Linked DNA regions of Homo sapiens: all the other regions are linked to region 3. The links are contacts of gene promoters, found by promoter capture Hi-C in blood cells and fetal thymus (Javierre and others, 2016). All regions are on one chromosome and are shown on one strand. Each heading gives the region's core, a stretch centred on a gene start or on the middle of the fragment in contact. The rest is flanking DNA. Distances are from core to core; before and after follow the strand shown.

The links. Contacts are between HindIII fragments. The CHiCAGO score rates a contact against its expected background, and 5 or more counts as called.
Region 1: a contact is called between a fragment that was not itself captured here and the fragment with the promoter of RPL34 in region 3, in 1 of 17 cell types (naive CD8 T cells). The highest score is 5.1, in naive CD8 T cells.
Region 2: a contact is called between a fragment that was not itself captured here and the fragment with the promoter of RPL34 in region 3, in 1 of 17 cell types (monocytes). The highest score is 5.8, in monocytes.
Region 4: a fragment that was not itself captured here is called in contact with the fragment with the promoter of RPL34 in region 3 in 2 of 17 cell types (non-activated CD4 T cells and naive CD8 T cells); the score reaches 5.4 in non-activated CD4 T cells.
Region 5: a contact is called between a fragment that was not itself captured here and the fragment with the promoter of RPL34 in region 3, in 1 of 17 cell types (monocytes). The highest score is 6.6, in monocytes.
Region 6: a contact is called between a fragment that was not itself captured here and the fragment with the promoter of RPL34 in region 3, in 3 of 17 cell types (naive B cells, total B cells and monocytes). The highest score is 7.7, in naive B cells.
Region 7: a contact is called between the fragment with the promoter of SGMS2 here and the fragment with the promoter of RPL34 in region 3, in 2 of 17 cell types (M2 macrophages and M0 macrophages). The highest score is 7.6, in M2 macrophages.

What each region holds. Positions count from the first base shown.
Region 1 is chr4:109,402,324-109,405,099 of GRCh38, forward strand. No RefSeq gene overlaps it. Among named protein-coding and RNA genes, the nearest start is that of SEC24B, 30 kb to the right of the region's middle. The HindIII fragment of the contact is 3,341 bases long and covers 1-2,776 here.
Region 2 is chr4:109,443,088-109,445,834 of GRCh38, forward strand. All of the region lies in intron 1 of SEC24B (SEC24 homolog B, COPII component), which reads left to right. Among named protein-coding and RNA genes, the nearest start is that of SEC24B-AS1, 11 kb to the left of the region's middle. The HindIII fragment of the contact is 4,493 bases long and covers 1-2,747 here.
Region 3 is chr4:108,619,231-108,621,933 of GRCh38, forward strand. RPL34 (ribosomal protein L34) reads left to right here and starts at 1,346. Exons shown (of 5, transcript NM_001319236.2): 1 at 1,346-1,370. RPL34-DT (RPL34 divergent transcript) reads right to left here and starts at 1,227. Exons shown (of 4, transcript NR_026968.1): 1 at 1,078-1,227. RefSeq lists enhancers at 884-2,083, 1,309-1,358. The HindIII fragment of the contact is 3,742 bases long and covers 876-2,703 here.
Region 4 is chr4:107,965,762-107,968,837 of GRCh38, forward strand. The region is part of intron 1 of LOC107986298 (a long non-coding RNA gene); the gene reads right to left. Among named protein-coding and RNA genes, the nearest start is that of HADH, 23 kb to the right of the region's middle. The HindIII fragment of the contact is 4,481 bases long and covers 1-3,076 here.
Region 5 is chr4:109,421,952-109,424,817 of GRCh38, forward strand. No RefSeq gene overlaps it. Among named protein-coding and RNA genes, the nearest start is that of SEC24B, 10 kb to the right of the region's middle. The HindIII fragment of the contact is 4,993 bases long and covers 1-2,866 here.
Region 6 is chr4:107,707,002-107,709,990 of GRCh38, forward strand. All of the region lies in intron 1 of PAPSS1 (3'-phosphoadenosine 5'-phosphosulfate synthase 1), which reads right to left. Among named protein-coding and RNA genes, the nearest start is that of PAPSS1, 12 kb to the right of the region's middle. The HindIII fragment of the contact is 3,967 bases long and covers 1-2,989 here.
Region 7 is chr4:107,823,563-107,826,651 of GRCh38, forward strand. SGMS2 (sphingomyelin synthase 2) reads left to right here and starts at 1,370. Exons shown (of 7, transcript NM_001375905.1): 1 at 1,370-1,691. The HindIII fragment of the contact is 3,698 bases long and covers 99-3,089 here.

The DNA.
Region 1 (2,776 bases), core at 23-2,522, 780 kb after region 3:
TAAGAAGAAAAATAATTTCCTAAACTCTCAGAGAGAATAAAACTAATTACATGCAAAGGATTGGAAATATGATCCTTTATCTCTTTTAGAGAAAAATACTGAATATTTACAATAAAACAGAGTAATTCTGGATTTTGATTTAAAATAATTGAAAGTTGGCCATGTGTGGTGGCTCACACCTGTAATCCCAACACTTTGAGAGGCCGAGGTGGGCAGACTGCTTTAGCCCAGGAGTTTGAGACCAGCCTGGGCCACATGGCAAAACCCCATCTCTACAGAAAATTAGCCAGGCGTGGTGGTGCACACCTATAATCCCAACTACTCAGGAGTCTGAGGTGGGAGGATTCCTTGAGGCCAGGAGTTCAAAGCTGCAGTGAACCATGATCGCACCACTACACTCCAGCCTGAGTGACAGAGCCAGACCCTGCCTCAAAAAAGGAAGTAAATAAACAAATAAAATAAAATAATTAAAAGGTCAGAAGTGGGGGATGTGCTGTAGAGGCAATGCAACTGGCTATACATTGACAATTGTGGAGTGATGGGTACATGGGAATTCATTATATTATATATTCATCATATAATTCTCTTTGAACATATTTTAAATTTTCTATAATACAGAGTTCTTTTTATAAACAAAGAAGGAATGATAGGAATGATTTAGATTTCTTAGCAACACCGGAAGCAAGAAGACAATGAAGCAATGGCTTCAAACTCCTGAAAGAAAACTATTTCCAAAGTAGAATTCTATACCTAGACAAACTGTAAATCAAGTGCAAGGGAAGTGCCCAAACAGATGAATCGGCCTTAGCTGAATCAATGGCTGTCCATCCATTTCTCTTGGAAGTAAGACAGAGTATTTGGATACTGAAACAAGTAGGTTTGTATATTTGATAATGGAAATAGGAGGTATTTCTCTTTAATGTGCTTCTGATTGCTTTACTTTGAGGAACTCATATCTAATGGAAAACATGGATGTATAAACAGGTAATGTTTATGTGTACCAAAACAAAATATACTAAGTTCTCCAATAGAGCTATGTTTAGCAGCTTATGGGACTCCAGCTTTGTGCCTCAAGAAAGGATTTATGGAGCTAGTAATGCCCGAGATAAGCCTTAAAGAATGTATAGCAGTTACACAAGTAAAGAAGGAAGGAAAAAGTATTCAAGGTGGTGAAATCACAATTAATAAAGGCATAAAGGAATAAAACATCATGGTGTATGTAGAATACTAGCACAGAACCAAACACAAGGTTGGGCCCCGTGGTTCACGCCTGTAATCCCAGCACTTTGGGAGGCCAAGGCAGGAGGATCACTTGAGGCCAGGAGTTCGACAACAGCCTGAGCAACACAGCAAAACCTTGTCTCTACAAATATTTTTTTTAAAAAAACTAGCTGGGTGTGGTGGCATGTGCTGTGGTCCTAGCTCCTCAAGAGGCTGAGGCAGAGGATCGCTTGAGCCCCAGCAGTCAAGGCTGCAGTGAGCTGTGATCATGCCACTGCGCTACAGCCTGGGTGACAATAATGCTTATTGACATGGACCTGGCATATCTAGTGAGACTAGAGATCATAGATGAAATTGGAAAGTATTATGCAGCTATTGGTTATCTGAATGTTGGGTTTATTGTCATGAAACAGCAGAGTCAGGAAACAAGGTGTTGGCCAGGCGCGGTGGCTCACACCTGTAATCCCAACACTCTGGGAGGCCGAGACGGGCGAATCACTTGAGGTCAGGAGTTTGAGACCAGCCTGGCCAACATGGCAAAACTCCATCTCTACTAAAAATACAAAAATTAGCCAGGCATTGTGGCACACGCCTGTAATCCCAGCTACCCAGGAGGCTGAGGCAGGAGAATTGCTTGAACCCGGGAGACGGAGATTGCAATGAGCCAAGATCTCACCACTGCACTCCAGCCTGGGTGACAGAGTGAGACTCCAGAAAAAAAAAAAGAAAGAAGGAAGGAAGGAGAGAAAGAGAGAGAGAGAGAGGAAAGAAAGAAAGAAAGAAAGAAAGAAAGAAAGAAAGAAAGAAAGAAAGAAAGAAAGAAAGAGAAGGAAGAAAGAGAGAGAAGGAAGGAGGGAAAGAAGGAAGGAAGGAAAGAAGGAAGGAAGGAAGGAAAGAAAGAAAGAAGAAAGAAGGAAAGAAAGAAAGAAAGAAAGAAAGAAAGAAAGAAAGAAAGAAAGAAAGAAAGAGAAAGAAAGAAAGAAAGAAAAGAAAGCAAGAAAGCTAAAAACTGTATTCTGCAGTAGAAGTTAAGGATCTAGAAAGTTTAGGAAACAACCAAGATGGTAAGTTCCTTAAGATCTTAAATGTAAACTGGTAGAAGTCTCCTACCAGTGGACTTCTACACTCAGTCTTAGGAATAGTCTGGATGGCTCACAGTTCACAAATTTGTTTACTAAGGTTGAATTTAGCCCTGGCTTATATTTCATTTATTTAATTCAGCAATGTTTATCATCATTTATTCATTTGCCAGTTGATTCTACAAAAAATTTTAAGCACCTATTTATATAGACACTGTTGACATAAAACAGTCTTTGTGGTGTCTATAGTCCAATGAGAGAGGCAGATGCTAAAGAAATATAGGCACAATTAATACATAAAAGGCATTTTTATGTGGCACACAGTCCATACCATATGACCCAACCAGAAGGTTCAAGTATTTCAGTACAATTTAGGTCAACTTCAATATTAAAAATACTTCCTAAGTACAATAGTAATTTTTAGTGCATATTATAAACAAGGGCCAAGAAAAAAAAACCCTAATTTGATCTTTATA
Region 2 (2,747 bases), core at 156-2,655, 820 kb after region 3:
ACATGCTCCCCTTTTCCCTCAAATTCTCAGTATCCTGTCTCTCTGCCTCCCTTTCCAATGGTGACCTTACTTATTTTACTAAGAAATTGAAAGCAATCTGACAATCTGAAGATAAAGTATTAATCTTCTGCCACCAAATCTGTCAGTCTTCCTGCATATTATTCTTGTGTTATCTGAGACAAATTCAGATTATTTGGGTACAGAATTCTGTTCCCTCTCTTTTAAGAACTTTGTCCCTCCGATTATCTCATTTACCATCAATTTTGATCTTAAACACCTGAACCTTATTTTATGCAATGCATATGTAATCCTAACAGTTATATATAACTTTTATTTTAGAGACGAGATCTCACTGTGTTGCCTGGGATGGTCTCAAACTCCTAGGCTCAAGTGACCCTCCAACCTCTGCCTCCCAGAGTGCTGGGATTACAGGCATGAACCACCATGCCTGGCCTATAAATTTAATTTACAATTCCTAGCAAATATTTATGTAGCTCCTCTTTACATAACATTTTGTGCTAGATACTCTGGGCATACAAATGTGAATGTTCTCTGCACTCCAGGAGTTCTGTACCCCTCAGTAAAAGAGGAGAGGACTGTCAGCACTGAACATGTGTTTCCTTCATAAGGCCTGTGAGAAGGGTGCCCAGAGTTTTGAAGAGGAAACAATTCTTTTTGGTTAAAGTAATAGGGAATCTTAAGGGAGGAAGTTAGAACTTCAGCTATATCTAAAATGATGGACACATTTTGAATTGTCAGGTAAAAATGCATGAATCAAAGGTAAGGAATTTAAAAAACGTACTCTGAGCAGTGCAGGGGTACAAGGGAGAGAGAGTAATGAAAGAATGGTTTGGGCCCGGTGTGGTGGCTCATGCCTGTAATCCCAGCACTTTGGGAGGCTGAGGTGGGTGGATCACCTGAGGTCAGGAGTTCGAGACCAGCCTGGCCAACGTGGTAAAAACCCATCTCTACTAAAAATACAAAACTAGCTGGGTGTAGTGGCGAGTGCATGTAATCCCAGCTATTTGGGAGGCTGTGGCTGGAGAATTGTTGGAACCCGGGAGGTGGAGGTTGCAGTGAACCGTGATCATGCCATCGCCTGGGCAACAAGAGCTAAACTCCATCTCAAAAAAAAAAAAAAAAAAGAATAGTTTTTACAATTATGTTGGGGCTGCTAATGGAAGTTCCTAGAAATTGTCCTAAGAAGTTTAGACTTCATTTGGATCAAAGAAGAGCCATTAAAGATTGTGTGGTAAGGAATGTTAAAAAGTACTCTGGTGGTGTTAGTAATGAATTAGAGGGAAGTGAAAGTAGAATAAAGGGAAGTCAGGTAGAGAATTTTTCAAACCAAATCGTATTTCATATGCCCTAAAGAGATCCTGTGATTTTTTTTTTTTTTTTTTTTTGGTACAGGGACTAGACTTGCATGAAATATTTGTTTTATAAATTTTAATTTTCATGTTAGGTTTTCTTAAAGCAAGAGAATCAGTTTTCCTTTGGTGAGAATCTGGTGTCTGAAAGGAGGTTATGCTACTGAGACAGATATGTCCTGGGGGTAGATCTTGTGATAATTTAGTCCTGCTAAGGAGGGCATACATGCTTATAGAAAATCATAGGCTGTATCTTGCTGGCACATGATATATCAGTCAGGCTGACCAGCTGAGCAGCTCCATTGAAAATATTATAGACCATTTGTTAAAAATATTTTATTTCTTCATTCAGATTGGTACCAGTGAGTAGATAATGTGTCAGAATCATCTGTTTCCCTCTTTTATTTGACATAGTTCACTTGAAGCTAAGAATATAAAATTCTTTCAGAGATTATATAAAAACTGAATTTTTTTGTTTTGTTTGTTTTTGTTTTGACACAGGGTCTCACTCTGTCACCCAAGCTGGAGCGATCACTGCTCACTGCAACCTCGATCTCCTGGGGTCAGGTGATCCTCCCACCTCAGCCTCTTGAGTAGCTGGGACTACAGGTGTGCGCCACTACACCTATCTAATTTTATGTAATTTTTGTAGAGATGGAGTTTCACTCTGTTGTCCAGGCTGGTCTTGAACTCCTGGACTCAAGCAGTCTGCTGCCTCAGCCTCCCAAAGTGCTGGGATTACAAGCACGTCTGGCCATTTTTTTAGTTTTTTCTTTCTTTCTTTGTTTTTTTTTTTTTTTTTTTGAGACGGAGTCTTGTTCTGTCGCCCAGACTGGAGTGCAGTGGTGCAATCTCGGCTCACTGCAAGCTCCGCCTCCCAGCTTCACACCATTCTCCTGCCTCAGCCTCCCAAGCAGCTGGGACAACAGGCGCCCGCCACCACGCCCAGCTAATTTTTTTTTTTTTTTTTTGGATTTTTAGTAGAGATGGTGTTTCACTGTGTTAGCCAGGATGGTCTCGATCTGACCTCGTGATCCGCCCGTCTCAGCCTCCCAAAGTGCTGGGATTACAGGCGTGAGCCACGGCACCCAGCCTGTTATTTTTATTATTTTATTTTATTTATTTTTTTGAGACAGGGTCTCACTCTGTCACCCAGGCTGGAGTGCAGTGGTGCAATCTTGGCTCACTGCGGCCTCAATCTCCTGGGCTGAAGCAAGCCTAGCACCTCAGCCTCCCAAGTTACTGGGACTACAGGCACAAACCACCACACCTGCGTAATTTTTTATTTCATGTTTGTAGAGATGAAGTCTTACTATGTTGCCTGGGCTGGTCTCAAACTCCTGGACTCAAGCAATCCCCCTGCCTCAGCCTCCCAAA
Region 3 (2,703 bases), core at 96-2,595:
ACGAAAAGGATTTCAGAGGACAAAAATCAAAGGACTGGAAAGGAGGGAAGTAGCTGATGACAAGGTCGGGGGAGAAGCAGCTATTTGAGAGTGAGCAGAGGGAAGGATATAACCAGAGCCTTCCATCTGGTGTTGTGACAAAGATGGCAGTGATGTGAGGCTTGATAGAATCAATAGGCCTCACAGTTCAAGACAGACTACATGCCCTCAGTCACTTGCCTGCTTTCTTGGTTTGCTAGATGGATTAGAAATACTAGAAGGAAAGTTGAGTGGGTACTGGGATATCCTATCCAAATCCTCTCTTCTGGGGCAATGCAGCTGCCTCACAGCAACCACGTTGTGGATCACCTGACCCCGCCTTTCTCAGCTTCCTGGAGGTGCATTCTAAGAGCGCTCCCCATAAGCCAACACTCAAGTCTCTTCGAGGTGTGTTTCCAGGGAGCCTGATCTAAGATTAAAAACTTAAAGGCCCCTTTTAGAATTGTCTTTTACAGCCCAGGCAAAGAGTTCTTTACTTTTTTAGAGGTCATGAATCCCTTTGACAAGGTGATGAAAGCCAGGGACCCTCTTCTCAGAAAAATACACACGTGCGCTTAATGTAAAATTTTACATACTGTTTTAAAGGTTAAACTTTACCACCCATGAAAAGCCTCAAGTAGTTCTTTGTACATAATCATAAGATTAGCAACCATTTACTGAGCACTTCCTCTCTATAAGACCCTGTGCTAAGTGCTTTAACTTCATAATGCCTTTGATCATGACATAACATGGCACGGTAGTTCCTAATATCTTCCTTTTAGAGATTTAAGGGCTTGCTCAAAGTAACATAGCTAATAATTAGCAGACACTGGATTAAAATCCCAATTTGTTTGTAAAGCTTGTGCTCTGAATAAATGACAAGGAAAGAGAAGGGAAGGTTGAAGAAGGGAAGGTTCTTGAAGGTCCCTGGTCCTTGAAGGTCCCTTAACCATAAATGTCAAGAGTTGGGATTTAAACCCAGGTCTAACGCCAGAGCTGGCGCCCTTTAGATTAAAAGTGCAGTGTCCATGACAACGAAAGAAGTTGATTTTGTCCCACCTTTGCTCTTTGCGGCTTTTCATTTGCGTTTGTTTCCACAGCGATTTCCAATAGATTTCTGCGTGGCCTTGACACAGACAGCTAGTGTGAATCCCCGCCCACAGAGGGGCGGCACGTTGGTTGCCGTACAACGTGGTGGTTCCCTGCATCTCTGCCCACGTCGGAGAGGTGCGTCGGCTTCCGTACAACACGGATACTCTCTCTCTGACGCAACTTCCTGTCCTGCGCAATTCTATTTGACCTTTGAACTGGCAAAGGCTTTTTTCTTCCTCTTCCGGGGACGTTGTCTGCAGGTATGGATGTTGTTCTCTTTTCCCTGTCTTTATTTCCTTACCAATCGGCTGCCATCCGAGGAGCTGAGGAAGCCTAGAGCTCTCAGAAGCAGTCCTTTGAGCTGGTGTAGGGGTAAGGGGCACAACAGGGAGGTTGGTGGTGAGGAAGTTCCTTACTTTGATCTTTGGAAATCCCTTGTTCCTGGTGGCACCTCCAAAGCCGTGAGTAGCCACAGCTCACCACCCGGGACTTTGCTGCATTCCAAGTGTAGCGTTTGGAGACTAACGAGTTGTGGTTTGGCGGTTTGAGTCTGGAAAATCGCCAAACGTTTTCATATTTTACACCCACGTTTTCACAGCACGCCTGTACGTGTCCTTAGTCTTTGGGAGGGCAGGGTCCGGCGAGTTCGGGTGGTTTCGCTATTTGGCTTCTGCGTCCAAGGCCCATGTCAAGGAAGAGAAAAATGTGTTAGAAGTTTCTGTCTTGCTTTTGGAGATGCAAACAGAATAATGGCTTCATAAATCACTCGCACTGGTTTTACGTGTCAAGTTTTGGTGTCTGGTAATTCTGTTTTAGTTTAATTTTAGTGAGAGGCTTGTGACAACAAATGAGGTGGTTACAAGGGGTGGAATGGGAAGATTAAATTAGTTCAAGTATTGATTATGTTTTACGTTGGGTAGTTCCCTTAACGAAGTTGCTCGTATGCATATCTGTATAACCGATTTGCTAAATAACATCACGATGTTTCCAGAAGTGGGAAGAAAGCAGGTGCCATAACCCAAAGAAACTTGTGTAATATCAAAATTAGTATTAAAGGGTATGCCTTTACGCAGGTGGTGCTTTAGGGCAAGACATTGAACCCTGATATGTGCCAGGCATTGTGTTGGGACGGATAGCCCACGTCGTTTAATCCTAATGACAGCTGTATAAAGTAGACAGAATTCCCATGTTAGAGATAAGGAGGCTAGCTCCTTGCCCTTTATATTCCCAGTAAATGGCATAGCTAAGGATTCGACTTCAGAGCTCACTTTTTGTGCTCTTTGTTTAAAGCGGTGTTTCTCCAACTGGGCTCGTGGCACTTTTCTGGACACCACTCCAAACAAAATTAGACTCTGAGTAAGGAGCCTGGTCATCAGAACGTTAAGGAAGTGCCACGTTTGATTACCATCAGGAAAGCTAACATTCTTGGCCTCTTGTTTATCAGTCACCTTTAAATACAAGTAGTTTTAAAATGTGGAATAATACATCTTAATTTAAGGGTGTTACATACAAGGATATGTATGTGAATGAAATAGACCACATGATACTGTTTTGAGATTTTATTTACTTTTACAATGGAAAGATTTGATGTTA
Region 4 (3,076 bases), core at 348-2,847, 650 kb before region 3:
TTCACTGCAGCATTATTCACAACAGCTAAGATATGAAAAGAGTGTAAGTATCCACTGATGGATGAATGGATAAAAGAAAATGTGGTGTACACACACACACACACACACACACACACACACACAATGGAATATTATTCAGCCTCAGGAAAGAATGAAATTTTGCCATTTGCAACAACATGGATGAACCTGGAGGATATTATGCTAAATGAAATAAGGCAGACACAGAAAAACAAATACTGCTTGATCCCATTGATGTGTGAAACCTAAAATAGTCGCACTCATAGAATTATAAAGCGAATGGTGGTTGCCAGGGGCAGTAGGGAGGGAGAAACGGTAATGCTGGTCAAAGGATAAAAAGTTTCAATATGCAGGATGAATACGTTCTACAGATCTAATGTACAGCCTGGTGGCTATGATTAACAATATTCCTTACTTGAAATTTTCTAAGAAGTAGATCTTAAATGTTTTTGCCACAAAAAAAGATAATAATAAAAGAAGAAAAAGAAAATGGTAACTTGGTGAGGTGATAGATATGTTAATTGGTTTGATTGTGAAGACCATTTCACAATGTATACATACATCAAAACATCAAGTTGTATACCTTAAATATGTACAATTTTTATCCATCAATGTTCTTCAATAAGGCTGTTTAAAGAAAAAAAGAAAAAATCCAACTCTTAAAAAAATAATAGAATCAATCAGAAAACTAAAACAGCATACACTTAATGACATAAAAATAGAAAACTCTTGTATTCCAAAAAACGGCTGGCAAATCATGAAAAAATGTTTGTATCAGCCTTGCCAAAAATTCAATATCCTTAATATATAAAGTGCTTATAAGTCAGTGCTTATAAATCCATATATACTATAATATATAGTATCTTTAATATTTTCATATACTATAGCATAGTATTTCTTCTAGTGAACTGTAAGTGCTATAATTCAGTAGTAGAATACCCTAATTTTAAAAACAGGCAAAAGATACAAATTATTGTGTTAAACTTTTAAGTTCAGGGGTACATGTGCAGGTTTGTTACATAGGATAACTGTGTCATGGTGATACAGGAGTTAAGAAGAAATCACTTAGGCAGATAGTGAGGGTACAGAAGTCCTCGGTAAGGCTTTTCTCTTTAATGAAAAGCAGCCCCAAATCATTGTCTAACAAAGAGCAGCCTGTAAAGTCAAGCGGCAGACATAGACGAGGAAGCTGGGAGCTTGCATGGGTGAATGCTGGCAGGAACTAGGGGCTAGACATGTTTAAGATGGCAGCTTCATCTTCCCTTCTCTGCCAGCCATGTGTACAGTAAGAAGCAGACAAGATGGCTCAGATCAACTGGAAAGCCCATTTGCATAATAAGATTAGGGTGAGACAACCGGCCTTTCCCCATCTGCTATGTAAATGTCATACCTGATCGAACCTATCTGTGAACCCTTTGTAAATCAGACACTGCCTCCTCAAACCTGACTATAAAATTCAATGCCACCTGCAGGTCTTTTCCATTCAGGGACCCCACTCTCTCTATAGAGAAAGCTGTTTCTCTTTCTCTTCTCTTCTGCCTATTAAACCTCCACTCCTAAACTCCTCTTGTTTGTCCATGTCTTAACATTTTCCTGGTGCACGACCATGAACCCCAGGGTATATACCCCAGACAACATAGTCACTTCTATGGGGGTTTATTGTACAGATTATTTCATCACCCAGGTATTAAACCTAGTACCCATTAGTGATTTTTCCTGATCCTCTCCCTCCTCCCACCCTCCACCTTGAGATAGGCCCCAGTGTGTGTTGTTCCCCTCTATGTGTCCATGTGTTCTTATCATTTAGCTCCCACTTATAAGTGAGAGCATGAGGTATTTGGTTTTCTGTTCCTGCATTAGTTTGCTAAGGATAATGGCCTCCAGCTCCATCCACATCCCTGTGAAGGATATGATCTCATTCTTTTTTATGGCTGCATAGTATTCCATGTTGTATATGTACCACATTTTCTTTACCCAGTCTATCATTGATGGGCATTTAGATTGACTCCATGTTTTTGCTATTGTGAATAGTGCTGCAATGAACATGTGTGCATGTGTCTTTATAATATAATGATTTATATTCCTTTGGGTATATATCCAGTAATAGATTGCTGGCTCAAAAAGTAGTTCTGTCTTTAGGTCTCTGAGGAATCACCACACTGTCTTCCACAATGGTTGAACTAATTTACACTCCCATCAACAATGTATAAGCATTCCTTTTTCTCCACAACCTCACTAGCATCTGTTATTTTTTTATTTTCTTAACAGCCAATCTTACTGGTGTGAAATGGTTTCTCACTGTGGTTTTGATTTGCATTTCTCTAATGATTAGCGATACTGAGCTTTTTTATATAATTGTTGGCCACATGTATGTCTTCTTTTGAGAAGTGTCTGTTCATATCCTTTGCCCACTTTTTAATGAGATTGTTTGTTTTTTCTTGTAAATTTGTTTAAGTTCCTTATAGACTTTTGATATCAGACCTTTGTTGAATGTAGTTTGCAAAATTTTTCTCCCATTCTGTGGGTTGTCTGTTTACTCTGTTGATAGTCTCTTTTGCTGTATAGAACCTCTTTAGTTTAATTAGATCCCATTTGTCAATTTTTGCTTTTGTTGCAATTGCTTTTGGTATGTTTATCATGAAATCTTTGCCAGTGCCTATGTCCTGAATGGTATTGCCTAGGTTATCTTCTAGAGTTTTTATAGTTTTGGGTTTTACATTTAAGTCTTTAATCCATCTTGAGTTAATTTTTGAGATATAATTTTTTTTTTGAGACAGTCTCTCTCTGTCACCCAGGCTGGAGTGCAGTGGCTCAAACTCGATTCACTGCAACCTCCACCTCCTAGGTTCAAGCAATTCTTGTGCCTCAGCCTCCCGAGTAACTGGGATTACAGGCACGTGCCACCACCCCCAGCTAATTTTTATATTTTTAGTAGAGACAAGGTTTCACCCTGTTGGCCAGACTGGTCTCGAACTCCTGGCCTCAAGTGATCCACCTGCCTCAGCCTCCAAAGTGCTGGGATTACAGGCATCAGCCACCATGCCTGGCCAAAAATTTT
Region 5 (2,866 bases), core at 106-2,605, 800 kb after region 3:
TTTATTTTATTTTATGATTTTAAGTTCCAGGGTACATGTATGGGATGTGCAGGTTTTTTACATAGGTAAACATGTGCCATGGTGGTTTGCTGCATCTATCAACCCATCATCTAGGTACTAAGTCCAGCATGCATTAACTATTTTTCCTGGTGCTCTCCCTTCCCCCACTCCCCCTGACAGGCCCCAGTGAGAAAGTAGATTCTTAATGTTGAAATTTTAGGTGTGGGACAAGGGGACTATAAAGATAAACAGAAATGGATGTAGATACAGAGTTTCCTGTACTCTCAGATGAGACGACTGCATAAACAGCTTTACTTAAGCAGATTCATGGTGCTGGGACTGTTCAAAAAGTGTTGCATGCTATGTAGTGCGAAGTTGAAGGATTCTAGCAGCATTAAAGAAAATGTTAATTTATTTGGTTCCATCTCATCCTAGTCAATAAGTCAACACATACAAATTGTTCCCCTTTTTGATTGCCTAGAAGTAAGCACTTTTATCTATTCAGTTTTTAGATTCCTATGCATTGCTTTCAAATCAATTGCATGAATGGAAAACTCTTCTCATTAATCACATTCCTCTCCACGCCAGCGAAGTCTCCTCAAGTCAGAGCACATCTACACATCGTCCACCAGATGGCGGTGGAAGCCCACCGACATTGTAGACTACGTAGGAAGAGCGTCCAGATGGAAAAGCGGGTTGGGGCTTTCTGGTCTGGTTTTTTTGTTTTGGGTTTTTGTTTGTTTGTTTTTGTTTTTTGTTTGTTCGTTTGTTTAAGACGGAGTTTCGCTCTGTCGCCCAGGCTGGAGTGCAGCAGCGCGATCCTGGCTCACTGCAACTTCCGCTTCCCGGGTTCAAGCGATTCTCCTGCCTCAGCCTCCCAAGCCCTGGGACTACAGGCGCAGGCCACCACTACGGGCTAATTTTTGTATTTTTAGTAGAGACGGGGTTTCATCATATTGGCCAGGTTGGTCTCAGACTCCTGACCTTGTGATCCGCCCACCTCGGCCTCCTAAAGTGCTGGGATTACAGGCGTGAGCCACTGCGCCCCGCTTCTGGTCTGTTTGTAAAACTAATCATTTCGGGAGGCTGAGGCAGGAGAATTGCTTGAACCGGGGAGGCGGAGGTTGCAGTGAGCTGAGATTGCGCCATTGCACTCCAGCCTGGTGACAGAGCGAGACTCCATCTCAAAACAAAAACAAAAACAAAATTAAGCATTAAAACGAAGAGGACTGTTGGATTTTAGAGCCTCAGATACGGGGCTTTTTTTAAAAGTCCATTTTTTTTTAAATTGTTAGAAAGATATGGCAATGACAAAGTAATATAAGTGATCTAATTAGATTATATTTTTTCTTGTTTTAAATTCTGGGTAATCTGTCCATTGAAGCTACTTGGCTGGGGAAGCAATTGAAAGTGTCATTCCTCAGTATGCTTGAAATCTCTCATACCCTTCATGCCCAACTAAGATATATAAGAGAAAATCCTGTTAGTGGCCATCAGCAGCTGCTGGAGAATGCACCTTTATATCCAGATTCTGGAATCTTTCAGGCAACCCTGCCTTCTTCCTCTTTGACTTCTATTTCTCATTCAACTCACCAGATTATTGGGATAATCATGTGTGTGGAGAAGATTCTCAATCTCTTTGAGTTTCAGATTTCTCATCTGCAGAATTAAAGTGTGTACTTTTTTGAGGAAATAATACATGAACATACATAGAACAATGCCTGGCACAGCCTAAATGCTCCAGAAATGGGAACTATTATTTTTTCCTCAGACTTTTACCTTATTTTGAAAGTAAGCAGGCTGGGCACGGTGGCTCATGCCTATAATCTCAGCACTTTGGGAGGCCGAGGCAGGTGGATCACCTGAGGTCGGGAGTTCGAGACCAGCCTGACCAACATGCAGAAACCCCATCTCTACTTGTGGGCGGAAAGCCACCCAGGTGCTGAGGCAAGAGACTGAAGGCACAAGCTGTTCCAGTATAATAAAAGAAAATAATTAGAATACAAAAAGTTATACTAAAAATAAGATATAGACATGATTATATATGAATATTATCAATCTTTAGTTGGTAGTGTTGCTCTTTTAGTATTATAATAATCTCTGTTTTATAATCATAACCTAGAAAACACCAGGCCATACAGAGTCAGGAGCTGAAGGGACATGGTGAGAAGTAACCAAAGGACAAGAGTGTGAGCCCTCTGTCACGCCCGGATAAGGGCCGCTTGAGGGTTCCTTGGTCTAGCGGTAAGGTCAGTGCCTGGGAAAGCACCCATTACTTGGCAGACCTTGGTCTAGCGGTAGGGCCAGTGCCTGGGAAGGCACCCGTTACTCGGCAGACCTTGGTCTAGCGGTAGCGCCAGTGCCTGGGAAGGCACCCGTTACTTAGCAGACCGGGAAAGCGAGTCTCCCTTTCCCCGGGGGGAGTTAGAGAACACTGCTCCACCAACTCTTGTGGGAGTCCTGACATTAGCCAGGCCTGCCCGCAGTCATCTGGAGGCTTAAACATCTGTGGTGCTGTGCTTCAGTGGTCATGCTCCTTGTCCACTTTCATGTTCTGCCTGTACACCTGGCACCTCCTTTTAAGTTCTTAAAAGATAGCAGTAACAAAATTAGTGAAAGTACTAAAGTCTTTGATCTTCCTGATAAGTGCACAGAAGAAATGCTGACATATACTGTCCTCCCTCTCTGCTTCAGCTATCACAAAGGGAAAGGCCCCCCGTCACGTGGACACGTGACTTGCTTGACCTTATTAATCATTTGAGATGACTCAAACTCCTTACCCTGCCCCCTTGCCTTGCATACAATAAATAGCAGTGTGTCCAGGCATTCAGGGTCACTACCAGGCTTCGCGCATTGGTGGTAGTGG
Region 6 (2,989 bases), core at 37-2,536, 910 kb before region 3:
ATATGGGTGCTGGCCTGGAACCTGGGTCCACAGAAATGGTCTTACAGCCTGGGTCAATGGGAGCTGGTATAGTGCTGAGATGTATTGGGATGGTCCTGAAACCTTGGATCTCTTAAGTATGGGGTTGCAGCAGCCAGCCTGGAGGGTGGGGCTACAGGGAATGGCCTTGTACTGGGGCAGACCTGAAGCCCAGGGCTGTGTGGGCCAACCTGGCTCTCAGCTGGTCTGAAACCTGGAGAGGGCCTGAAGCTGGGACAGCTTGAAGCCTGTATCCACAGGTGCCTGCCTGTGACAGCCAGCCTGGTACTAAAGGTAGCTCTAAGCCCAGGGCCACTGGGGCCAGCCTGGCCCTAAGACAAGTCTAAAACTTGCATCAATTGGGTCTGGCCTGGTGGTGGAGGTTGGAGGAGCTGGAACCTTGGGCTGCAGAATCCTGCTTAGTACCAGGGTAGGCTTGGACGCTCAATCCATAGGTACCATCCTGGAGTCTGGGGCTACGGGGGCCTGCCTTGCACTGAGTTTCACTGAGGTGGGCCTGGTGTTGGGTTCTGAGGCAAAATCTTTTGCTTACTGCCCTCTTCCTCCCCTAAGCAAAGGGTATCTTTCTCCACGTGCTGCCTGAGGTTGCAGGCTGGGGGCAGTAATATAGGTCATGTAAAACTGTTCTTTCTACTCTCTTCAATGTGTTTTTTCTGATTTCTCTGCTACATCCAGGTGCGGTCATCTCTCACCTGGTTTCCTTAGCTTTTATTAAAGTATTTTTGTGCAAGAATAGTTGTTCAATTTATGTTTCTGTGTGAAGACAAGCACTGGGAAGTCCCATTCTGTCATTTTGCTGACCTCCACCAATACACAGATTTGACTTTTAAGGAATTAAATTTCTATACAAATCTTCAACTTCCATGAGATTAAGGATCTCTTTTCCTACCTTCCCCTTCACAATCCTGTACAGCAGAAATGCCATCTCCCACACATCTGAATCTTATTATCATCATTACCATTACCTGAAAAATCCTCTGGGACCAAAGGGACAATTTGACAACTCTTTTTAATAGGTATGCCACAAAAGCTGCACCCCTTCCCATCTACTCATCTCATTAACAATAATTATTTACACAATAATTATTAATACTTTATTTCCAATAAAATACTTTTACATATTTAATAATCACTTACAAAAAATTGTAATGAGTCTCTAGATTCATTTCTTTTCAATAAACTGATGAAGCAAATACAACTTACCAGCTCTACATTTCCAAGAACTTAAAAAAGAGGGCTTCAGAAGTAGACATTTGTATATCTTGAGAAGCAGTGGCACCTCTTTAGCTTTAGCTCCCATTGATACTGGCTAAGGAGGAAAAGGGAGCTAAAGTCTCTGCTAAAAGGGAATTGCAGAGGGTGCTATACACATTTTGCTGCCTATACTGGTAGAACCTGTTTGGCTTGGTCATTTTGTTTGAGGATTTTTCCAAGTTACTTCACTCTTTATAGACAAGAAGAAACATATATCTAATGAATTTTAATTGATTTGGGCTCTGTAAAATATCTTCTGCTTTTCTTATCAAATCAAGCTAGAATGCATAAAAATTATCTGTCAAGCTATCAACTGCTGAGAATATGGCTGAGAAAAAATACAGACAGGGTAAGTAGAGACCGTCTGTTTTAATCTCTAAAAAGAATGCTCCCTCAGTTTCTTGCCTCCTACATTTAAAAAGATTCTGGCAGCAAACATAGTACTCTGGATATAAGGAGATTTTTTTTGGTTTATGTATGTTTGATATTGTTAAATCAAGTTAAGCCTAAAGCTACCTCTTTTACATATTTTAAGTTCAGCCTAAAGGTTTCTCCATATGTACTAAACTAACCTAGCTGGAGACAAACAGACTGTATCCACCCTTGTGCCAATGACTGAGTTTTGGCCAATCAAATGTGGCCAACTGTTCAAACCATGTTCAAATAAGTCAAATGCTGAGCTATAACCAATCCAGTTGTTTCTGGACCTCACTTCCATTTTCTGTGCACCACTTTCCTTTTTCTGTCCATAAATCTTCTACCATGCAGCTGCACTGGAGCCTCTGAGCCTACTCTGGCTCAGGAGGCTGCCTGATTCACGAATTGTTCTTTGCTCAAACTCTTTTAAATTTAATTCAGCTAAAGTTTTTAACAATATTTTTCATATTAAAAAATAAACTTAAAAAAAATTGCCACATTGTCCTAACTCCCAATTTTTCAAAGTAAATCAAAGAGCACTTTTATAAAACTACTGGAATTGAAACAGCCTTTGCAAAAATTACAAGTGAGAAAATTGTTAACAGTGAAAAAGATCTGATCTAACCAACCTCCATCTTGCCTTTAACCTCCAAACTGCCCTTAGGTATTGCTGGGTTTGGGTCAAGCTAACTTTGGGAGAAATTTAGTTTTTAGTTTAAATGATAATACTACTTCCCCAAAAGTAAACCATCTTTTAAAGCTAATAAAAGACCACCAGGTTAGGAGATGAGAGGAGCCTGAATCCTCCCAAGGTGTAAACATAAATGATTACCAGCCACTATTCCAGAAGTCACAAGATTTTCAACTTCCCCAGTTACTCCTGCAGATGACATCGCTATTGTAGAACCTAAGATTGGCCTTTTGAGATGTCTTTTCAGGTTTTTGCATTTCTGACTCTCAATGGCTCCACCTGGACCCACCAACCACCTGTGTGCTCCCAACCAGAAGTGTACTTAACACACTAGGACTATCTTCCACACCCCTATGATTACATCCCCAACGAACTGGCTGCACCCATTGCCTTGCCAACCAAACTATCCTTAAAAAACTCTGGCCTCTAAATTTTGAGGAAGGCTGATTTGTTCAATAATAAAAGTCTCCTGTTCAGCTGGCTCTGCATGAATTAAACTCTTTCTCTATTGCAATTACCCTGTCTTGATAAATTTGCCTGTGGGCAGCAGGCAAAATGAACGCATTGGGTGGTTACAGAATTGCAAAG
Region 7 (3,089 bases), core at 120-2,619, 800 kb before region 3:
TTGGAGCTCCTCATATATTCTGGTTATTAATCCCTTGTCAGATGGATAGTTCCCATTCTGTGGGTTGTCTCTTCAGTTTGTTTCCTTTGCTGTGCAGAAGCTTTTTAGCTTAATATGATCCCATTTGTCCATTTTCTTTGGTTGCCTGTACTGTGACGACATCTTGAAGTTGCGAGTTTGGGGATTGCCTGCCTTGTATATTCTTTTCTGTTACCATCATCTTTAATAGCCACAAATGACTGTTGACCCACATGATATCTGCACTAGAAACCCAAAGATTCCCGTCATTATTTTTGTTGATTATATGGAAGCACCCATAAACCAGCGCAAATCCTAAACATAATTATCTTGTCCAGAAGGAGACATTAATGTAAAACTTATGTCAAGAAAGATTTAGCCACATTCCCTCGGATTGGTCATTCCTAGTTAGAGTCCTTGAGGCTGCCATCGTTTACTTTGAAAACTGCCCAGCAGGTGTATGAATAGCAACTCCAGGACAATGTAGAACCATTACCATTTTAAAGACAGCAATCCCCCTTTTAAAAAACTACTGAGGCCTTCGAAGAAACCACACGGCTGCCTTGGGCCCCAAAAGCTGCGGAAAAGCGCAGTATTCAGTTAAGCAAATAACTACTTACACTGTTTATTTTGGTTACGATTCCTTAAGTGAGAAGTAAATCAATTAACAGGACAAATGACACGATGGTTAGGCACGAAAGGGACAGTGCTGCCACCTCATTAGCTTGGAGCAACCTTCCAGCTCATACCATGCGGACTGATGACTAACCTTGCCAGGCAACGCTGTGAGGTTTGGAAACCCACCTCTTTGACCTAGGCCCGGTCAACACCGATAAACCCTCTGAATCAACGCTGGCGCTCCCAAGCCCACTCACACGCCGTCAGGAAGCAGTTTCCGAAACAGGCCGGGTGCGGGGGTGGGGGATCCCGTTCCAGCCCCACCCCTGAAAGTTGCTGGGAGTGGCACCCAAAGAACTTTCCCAGATTGATCTCTGTTGCCGCTCAGGGAGGTCAGCTCCAGGCCCTCAGCCTTTCGGCCGGGAGCCAAACTGCCCTGCCTGCCAAGCCCCTCCTTCTCTGCACCTTAAACAGCCGCGAGGGGAGAGTCGGCTGGGATTTTCTTCTTAAGAAGTCGCGCAGGTTTTTCGAGCTCCACTCTGCGCCAGGAGAGCCACGGCAGCAGGAACGGGCACTGCTGCCACCGGGCCGACGGGTGAGTCACTGTTTGGAAATGGAGTGGGCGGGCGAGGGTGTGAGAGAATGAATGATGTCAAGAGCGCGCTGGGCGCAGGGCGCAGGGAGCGGGCCGCGCGCGGCGGGCGGGGAGAGCGGGCGCGGGGCCGCGGTCAACACTGAGCGCCGCGCCGTGGGCCGAGTGGGGCGGGGAGACCCAGCCCTCGGCGCGCACGGAGCCTGGCCGGTGCTGCAGCGCCGCCGAGTGCGGCCTCGGGGGCGGCGGCCGCGGGAGGGACCCGGAGAGCTGCTTCCCCTAGTCAGGCCGCGGCGTGGGAGGGCGAGACCCCGAGCAAACTTTCTAGCGGCTTCGGCCCGAGGGTGGTGACGCCCGGGGCTGGTCGCGGCGGCTGCGGCAGCGGGCTCCATCCCCTGGCAAATCCCCTTCCCGGGAGCAAGTGCCTTCAGCTGGGAGTGTCTGGAGCCCTGGCCACCAGCGGGTAAGGAGCGCGCGGAGGGGCCAGGAGGAGGATGGGCTGGGGAGCGGAGAGTCCTCCGAAGCGCGGGAGGGGAAAGGTGGATTGCGAAGCGGGGACGTGGCTCTAATCCGGCCCCCACCCTCCCCGCCCAGGGCATGCTTCCTCGATTTTGTGGTCTGGAGGAGAGATGTGTGCCTTAGTCTCCTTCCTCTGAGCAGTCATCTCATTCATTTGCAACCCATTTCGGGTACCCCGGTCCTGGCGTTGGAAGGGCACAGGTTAAACCCCAGATTGTCCAGAACCACTCCGGAGGTCAGGGCTGAAGTTCAGTTGGTGGAGGAGGGACTGTGTGTGTGTGTTTGTGTGTGTGGTTTTTCTTTTCTTTCTCTTTTTTTTTTTTTTTTTTTTTGAGAGGCACTTACTGATGATGTGTGAACAGTAACAGCCCAGCTCTGGGCAGCCCACACCGAAACCCTTCAACGTGTGGCATTCCAGAGCTGCTCCCTTTACGGAAGGGAAGACTTGGTTTCTCAGCGAAAATAAGGGGCGGGGAACCCCTGTCAACATCCATCCAGAGGTATGGATAATCATTAATTATCCACGGCTTGAAACCAACTCAAAATGTTATGTCCTGTAGTCTTTTTTATTTATTAATGTTGCCGGTCCTCTATTTCAAGTCTTGCCTGCTCTGAAATGACCTTAAAATCATTTTGACATGTGTGTTATATTTTGAAGAGATTCAACTGTTTAGTGTCACTGGATTCGGCGTGGGTTTTCAATCTGTACCTAACTTTTCAAATCCTTGGTTTCATTACCAGTCTCCTCTATTAACGGTGGGTGCTCAGGCACATTAAACATTCTGAACCAGTAAAATGGGATTATAGCTACTTCAGATAATAAGGTGGATTAAATAAGGATTAATAATGAGGATAATAATGAGGATTAAAGCGCAAAAGACTTCTCATAATGTCTGGTACAAAGCAGACCCCAACAAATTATAGCTGTTTATATATAAATAATAGTGTGTTGCAGCTGGCTTAGGTAATAACCAATTAATTTCCACAGAATGTCCTCCTTATAAGCCTGGTGGGCCGAGGGTTAGCATGTGAAATCCTTTGGCAAGTTCCTTAGATTGGGAAGTGATGTTTTCAGCAAGTTAAACATTTTTAGTACGGATACCTGAGAAGGTTATGGTTTCCATCCTGTGTCATGGGAACTGCCATTTACTGTTTAAACAATGTCAGAGCAATGGCTGAAAGTGACAACCTGGAATTTACAGGAAGAAAGGACGTGAGGAAGCTAACTTTACCTTTACCTTTTTTTTTTCCTAAAGAAGCAGTGCAAGCAGTGCAAAATTTCCTCTTTATGGCCCTTTCCTTGGTCTTCTAATGTTCTTACTTCACAATAGTCTGGTTGAAG